2 separate regions of the Homo sapiens genome follow, and region 2 is linked to region 1. The links are contacts of gene promoters, found by promoter capture Hi-C in human tissues and cell types (Jung and others, 2019). All regions are on one chromosome and are shown on one strand. Each heading gives the region's core, a stretch centred on a gene start or on the middle of the fragment in contact. The rest is flanking DNA. Distances are from core to core; before and after follow the strand shown.

What was found. The method cuts DNA at HindIII sites, captures the fragments that hold promoters and counts their contacts. A contact is called where the count stands out against the background at its distance.
Region 2: a fragment that was not itself captured here is called in contact with the fragment with the promoter of ADAT2 in region 1 in 1 of the 25 tissues and cell types used here (IMR-90 fibroblasts).

The regions. Positions count from the first base shown.
Region 1 is chr6:143,448,973-143,452,616 of GRCh38, forward strand. ADAT2 (adenosine deaminase tRNA specific 2) reads right to left here and starts at 1,723. Exons shown (of 6, transcript NM_182503.3): 1 at 1,591-1,723. The coding sequence starts at 1,686. It overlaps PEX3 (peroxisomal biogenesis factor 3), which reads left to right and starts at 1,833. Exons shown (of 12, transcript NM_003630.3): 1 at 1,833-2,143. The coding sequence starts at 2,071. It also overlaps the pseudogene RNA5SP221. RefSeq lists enhancers at 729-1,711, 1,514-1,673 and silencers at 754-833, 894-973. The HindIII fragment of the contact is 11,275 bases long and covers 1-3,644 here.
Region 2 is chr6:142,786,843-142,790,282 of GRCh38, forward strand. The region is part of intron 2 of HIVEP2 (HIVEP zinc finger 2); the gene reads right to left. Among named protein-coding and RNA genes, the nearest start is that of HIVEP2, 160 kb to the right of the region's middle. The HindIII fragment of the contact is 5,668 bases long and covers 1-3,440 here.

The DNA of each region.
Region 1 (3,644 bases), core at 473-2,972:
TATATGCTACGGTTATTAAACCTGTCCTTTTATATATGTCGCAAATATTTTCCTTCTTTGTATTTCCTTTACTTTGTATCTTTTTCTTTTTTGAGACAGGGTCTGGCTCTGTCTCCCAGGTTGGAGTACAGTGGCACAGACACGGCTCACTGCGACCTCAATCTCCCAAGGCTCAAGCAATCCACCTTCCTCAGCCTCCTGAGTAGTTGGGACTACAGGCACATGCCACCATGCCCTACTAATTTTTAAATTTTTATTTAGTAGTGACGGGGTCTGGCTAAGTTGCCCAGGCTGTTCTTCAACTTTTGAGATCAAGAGATCCTCTTGCTTCTGCCTTCCAAAGTTTTGGGATTACAGGCATGAGCCACTGCATCTGGCCATGCTACTTTGTATCTTTTTAAACATGTAGATGTTTTCAAAGAATTTCTAGACCTCTCTGGCTTTGACATTTTTTGTCTCTTAATTGTATTATAAACACCTAGGGATGTGATTCCATAGTTTACGTCCTCCTACACAGGATTAAGGAGGCAGCTGCTTCTTGGGTTTTAGCATATACAAGTTTCTTCAAGGTCTTAAAGGAAAAAAAGTACTTGTTAGGAGGGCTACATGTCACTGGGCAACAGGAACTTTTCAGCTTCATTATAATCCTATAGCACCACCGCTGTATATGTGGTCCTATAAGATTATAATGGAGCTGAAAAGTGCTAGCGAGCTTCTTAACTGGGATAAAAGTTTGTTTGTAAACGTATGTAAATGTATTTACATGTGCTAGCCCAGGGTCAACCTAAAAGGTAGCGAAAGTGTTTAGCCCAGAAGTCTACATAGAAACTAGGGTTGTCTACCTCCATACCACCCTGAATGTCCCCCGATCTCGGAAGCTAAGCAGGGTCAGGCCTGGTTAGTACTTGGATGGGACAATAGGGCTAAGGTGAGTAGATTTAATGCTCCAGGATAACGACCTTTACCGACAGGTCATTGTGTGGCACGTGGCTGTATGTAGTTATTAAAATGTAAATACATATATTTACAAACAAACTTTTTTTCCCAGTTAAGAAGCTCGCTAGCACACAGCATTCTGTTGAAAGCCCCCTTTATTTCGCAGTCCTGAAGGGAGTGAGGGAAGGAAGTAAAAGGGCAGAGGAAATAATGAATGAATGCGAGACGCCGATTGTACAGGGACTTGTTTCCATACTGCTCTCTACCAGAAACGTTCTCAGTTTCCTTCCTTCTGCTGGACATGTTCCAAGGGCCAAAACCTCAAATAATGTGACTTTGTAGATTGGAGAGTGTGTGACCACAGAAAGGAAAGGGAGGCAGCACGTGCCAGCCGGCGACAGAATGTTAAGTCTGCAGCATACTCCACCGCAATGAAACAAATAATTTGTGTATTTCCTCCCCTTCCTTCGCCCAGAGCCACTGTGAGAATGGGCTACAGAAAGTTTCGAGGCAGTAAAGCCAGTTGTTCACCCAGAACATCTGACTGCCATAAAAATTATGGTGACGAGAAAGAACGTTTGCTCAAATGCCGGGGTCGGGTTGAGGGCTGGAGAAAGGTCCCACCCCGCAGCATCTACCTCCCGGGCTCCTCACCATGTGCATCGCCTCCTCCATCCACTTTTCGGTCTCCTCTGCCGACACCGAGCACGCGCCGCTTGCAGCTGGCTTGGGTGCCGCCTTCGCCTCCATACCCAGCCACCACTCAGCTACAGAGCCCGCGGCAGAGGAGGAGCGCGGGCAGCGGAACGCGGCGGGCCCGGGACCCCGTTTCCGGGGGTAGTCTAATGAAAAGGCACTCGGGAGCTATTTCTGAACGGACCTGGGCTTGTCGGACCAGTGAGCGGCGGCGGCTGCGCGGCGGCAGCGGCAGAAAGCGTAGCTGCTTTGCTGTAGTCCACGCCCCCTTGCCGCTCCGGTGACAGTCTCTGCGGAAAGTCACGTTTGTGATTTCGGGAGAGCACAGAACGGGACGACGGCGCTCTTGCTGGGTCATCTGGGCCAGGTGACGAAGAAACAGTTTCCTGGTGAAGCAGTCCCTCACCCCTAGTCAGCCCACACCCCTAGGGCCTAAAGATGCTGAGGTCTGTATGGAATTTTCTGAAACGCCACAAAAAGAAATGCATCTTCCTGGGCACGGTCCTTGGAGGTGGGTGACAACGTGCTTGAAAGGGGGCATTGGGAGAAGGGGGTGGGAGAGGTGACTTCTTCTAAAATAAGGACAGGCCGGGCGATCCTAGTCTGGGATATGTAGAGGGAGTTCGATCAACCATGGGATGAAAAGGGAGGTGGCCAACCTCCAGGGTTCTCCCATCTCTGCAGTTGAGAAATGCCTCTGTGCCCTTTGCCCTGTCACCGACTCTTAACTCTGTTTCTCACCTATCCTTTTTTCTCACGGACCTTTGGAGAACTCATCACAGTTTAAGTTTCTGTTTCAAGGCACCATTCTCTTACAGGAACTTTTTAAAAAAAATTCTGCTTTCCTGTGAGATTCTGCATTTCTCCTTGGCACTCTTGATACTTTGGCTCTCACCCTTCTCAGGAGTTTAATAATAATCTAGGGAAGTTACCTATAGGCTGCACTTCGGGTGGTGGTTAAAGTCGATTTGAATTTTTGAAAACAGCGCAGTTGTCCTAAAGGACTGAAAGATATGGATTAGATAAAGAAAAACAAATCAATATTTTAGCTCTGTTTCTGCCATTTTAGAATACAAACTATGGCAGTAAGAAAAATGCTTGAGGGATGTTGTGCAATCTTCCTCAGGATCTTCAAGGTTGGGATCATTGTAATCTAGCTGACATAACTGAGTTGCACAGGCCCAGAGGAGATTTAGAAACAGATAAGATAAAAATCTTGAGACGCTTTTCCCTCATACAATGCTCATGTGATAATATTCAGGGATTTGAAGGAGGGAATAAAAGTTTTGTGAATTATATGAAAAGGACATCTAGGAACTATAAAAGAGGAAATTTGTTAGAACTTGAGTTTTTGAGAAATAGTCTCATCACTTATTACATGCTATGTTTACAAAAGTACTTAAAATCAAGAACAGAGTTTCCCAAAGAATTTGGTTGGCTTTTCTCTTAGTATTAGATTGTATTCTGTTCTCCCCAAACAATTTGAAATTAACAGTACGTATTAGATTGTATTCTGTTCTCCCCAAACAATTTGCAATTAATACCTTTAGCATCAATAGTTCAGATTTTGGTGATGCTTGAAAGTTTGAAACAGAGTTCTTGTTGCTGAGCCAAGGATGGTGTTTTGCATGTCTCTGAGGTCTATCACACATCAATAATAAGCATATGTAAATTTTGAACACCTTCGAGAAATCCTTTATATATAAAAGGTATTTTCTGATATCTTCAGTCGCTAGTATCTAATGTATATTTAAATTATCCTAAGACTACAGAGTCCATTTTATTTATAAAAGCTAAAAATATATGTGTGATTGAAGAAATACAAATAAAGTATTTTTGCGTTTACTGAAGGAAGGAAAATTATCTCTTTAGCGATCTCAGAAGGAATACTCCTTCAGCTTATGGAACAACTTTGTAGTAGATTAGAAATAATCACAGGGGAAGCAAAAGAGTATACTTAAACTTATAATTTTTTTAAAAAACTAACAAGAGCTTTATAGTTACAGAATAAG
Region 2 (3,440 bases), core at 384-2,883, 660 kb before region 1:
TGGCAGAACTCTCAAGTACCTCCCATCACCCTTGTTTTTTCTGAGGTTAAATAAATACACACTATATCACAATTTTAGGAGAAGAGCTGATAAGGTAAACCAGTTACACTTTAGATGAGCATTGTCATAATTAAAAACAATAATTATTGGCTGGATGTAGTGGCTCACACCTGTAATCCCAGCACTTTGGGAGGATTGCTTAAGACCAGGAGGTTGAGACCAGTCTGGGCAACAAAGCAAGACCCTATCTCTATAAAAAAAAATTTAAGCAGGTGTGGTGGTGCACATCTGTAGTCCCAGCTGCTTGGGAGGCTGAGGTAAGAAGATCATTTGAACCCAGGAGTTTGGCGCTGCAGTGAGCTATAATTGCACCAGTCTGGGGGATAGAGTGAGACCCCGTCTCAAAAATAAATAAATAAATAAATAAAAACAACATCAATGAAAATAATTCTTATAAACTCAATGGAAAAATGGCAAATAGAAACTGGAAACAAGATATGATAGTTTTATTTCTCAGTAAAAAGAGTGTTTAAGTATTACATGTTTAAAAGAATGAACACTACTCTTCACTAGAGAAGAGACACTTTACTCTTATAGTAGGGAATAGAAAAGATTCAAAAGTAGTGACTAAAGATGGGAGAAGAGCACTGAAAGAGATATCAATGTTCAAGATATAATCCATCAATTTCACAAGCTTTTTGTAGAGGCATCTTTTCCTCTCTACAAAAAAAAAAAAAAAAAGACTCTAAATGGGCCCATTGTTCCACTCTGGAGTGCGTAAAGTGGCAAAGGAAGAAGAGGCTGCGAAGGACTAGAGAAGGCAGGTACAGGATAGACAACACACATACACACACACACATACATTGACAGGATGATGACTATAAGCTTAGATCTTCAGAAATATTTTTGATATAAAGGTAATGGATGAGGTTGGGGTTGAAATGTAAAAAAGAAAACATATTAAAGGGACATGACTAGGAAAAGAGAAACATAGTAGTTTTGGAACATGGGGCAATTCATTACTGGGACAACAATGTAGAAGGTTTTGAAAAGTCAAGAAGGTGCATGGAAGGAAGGATTCCCACAGAGTTTTCATAATAGGAGGCTGGGGCAAACTGAGTCCAAATTAGCCAGAAACTGCCCATAAAAATGACACCAAAGCTACATATGGTCTATTGCTGATTCTCAGCAGGTAGTGCAGGAGCACAGAAAAGATAGGAAACAAAGCATTGTGTAAATTAAAACTAGTGAAAACAAACAAAAAAAGCAGATACATGTGCATTAGAGATTGTAACTTAGGCCTCTTTAAATAGGATTTCTGATTATTCTATGATACTTTAAGACATTTACTTATACCTAATGTTAAATGACGAGTTAATGGGTGCAGCACACCAATATGGCACATGTATACATATGTAACAAACCTGCACATTGTGCACATGTACCCTAAAACTTAAAGTATAATAAAAAAAAATCCCCCCCTCAAAAAAAAGACATTTACTGAATGCCTACGATATGCCAGAAATGGGCTGTATTTACACAATACAGAAAAAGAAAAGACAAGCATTGCATTTAAGAGCACAGAGCTGGCTGGGTATGGTGGCTCACACCTGTAATCCCAGCACTTTGGGAGGCCCAGGCGGGCAGCTCACTTGAGGTCACGACTTCAAGACCAGCCTAGCCAACATGGTGAAACCCTGTTTCTACTAAAAATACAAAAATTAGCCGGGTGTGGTGGCTGGAACCTGTAATCCCAACTACTCAGGAGGCTGAGGCAGGAAAATCTCTTGAACCCGGGAAGCAGAGGTTGCAGTGAGCCAAGATCACACCACTGCACTCCAGTCTGGGTAACAGAGCAAGACTCCATCTCGAAAAACAACAACAACAAACAAACAAACAAAACAAACAAACAAACGAAGAGCTCAGAGCTTCAGCGGGGAGATATTTGTGAATTAGTTCAACAAATGACATAAATATAAACAGATTACAAAGGAGATTACAAGAGGGAATGGTCACTCCTTTCTGGAAAGTTAGAAAAGGCTTTCTAGATGTAACGACACTGAACTTAATATTTAAATAAAACTATATATGCTAATATACAGAAATGCACAGTTATCAATGTTAGATTTAGAGACAAATACATTTGTCAGATGAAATAAAAATACAAGACTCTACCATTCCGGTTTCTCTATGATTATATATACTTTATTTTGTGTGATGGAATGTTGGTTCATGAGGATGCTTGGGGAATAAGGTGTTCTAGTTAATACAATCTTATGGTTAGGTAAAGACCACAGAGAAAATCATTTTTTGTTAAACATCTGGTGGTAATTTATTTTCAAAAGTACACTAGCTTTTGCCTTGAGTTAATTACAGTCTACTAACCATAATTTAATCTTCCTTTGATGGTTCAGGATCATATAGTGTTCTCCAGTCATTCTGCATCTTGGCTGTGCTCATCTGGTATTGGCCATGCAAACTTCTCCCAACATGTGTCCTTAAAACACACGTCATGTTTTCTAAGATAAGAGCTATAACCTAGGTTTGTTTTCTTGACCCAATTTGACATCACGTAAGTCATATATCTGACTAACTTGATTTTAGGAGCAAATATATGACTACAAACTTCTATTACTATTTAAATGTTTAGCTTATTCTAAATCATATAGGCAGTGTTTAGGGCTATGGAATAATTTAGAAACCATTGAATTTAATCTATCAGGCAACTAACAAATGAAAAAGGTGAGAACCAGAGAAGTCAAAAGACTTGCTTAGGGACCCACAGCTCATTATGATAGTTCTGGTCTACAGCTTAGGTCTTTAAACTGTCAAGTCAATTATTTTCCATTATCCACACTACTTCCTCTTATTCAAAGTTTATTTATCTAACCCTATTTCAGAAATTGATTGAATGAGTAAAGAAGTAAAAAATGAAGAATTAATAATTTTGAAATTCAAATGAGCAAAGATATTTATAATCCATAATCAAAGAAACAGAAAATAACAGTAGTTAAGGATCAATGCTCCACTGAAATGTTTATCAATTTTTATACTAAATAAAAATAAATGCAACAAAAATTTTAATTTTTCCAAAATGAGTAAATGACAGAAAAATTAGAAGATAATCAATTTCCATAAGCAGTGCATTATTTAGTATCCAAAGCAAAAATAATTACTTAATTTACAACCAATTTTCAGTATAAGCTATTTTCTAAGATTTTTATGCTCTTATAACGAAAATTTTTCAGTAAATATTTTAAGTAGAGTTATGAGACCATCTTCCTAAAAGCAAAGATAGCTCTTTCATTGAAAGTCAATGGAGGCAAGCCCCTTGTTCATAATACCAAAATTTCACCTAGGAGACCTGTGAAGACATGGTAACACCAACTCCACAGGCACTACTTCTTCTGCTGCATTGGTTTTGCAAAAGGGCAGAGCCA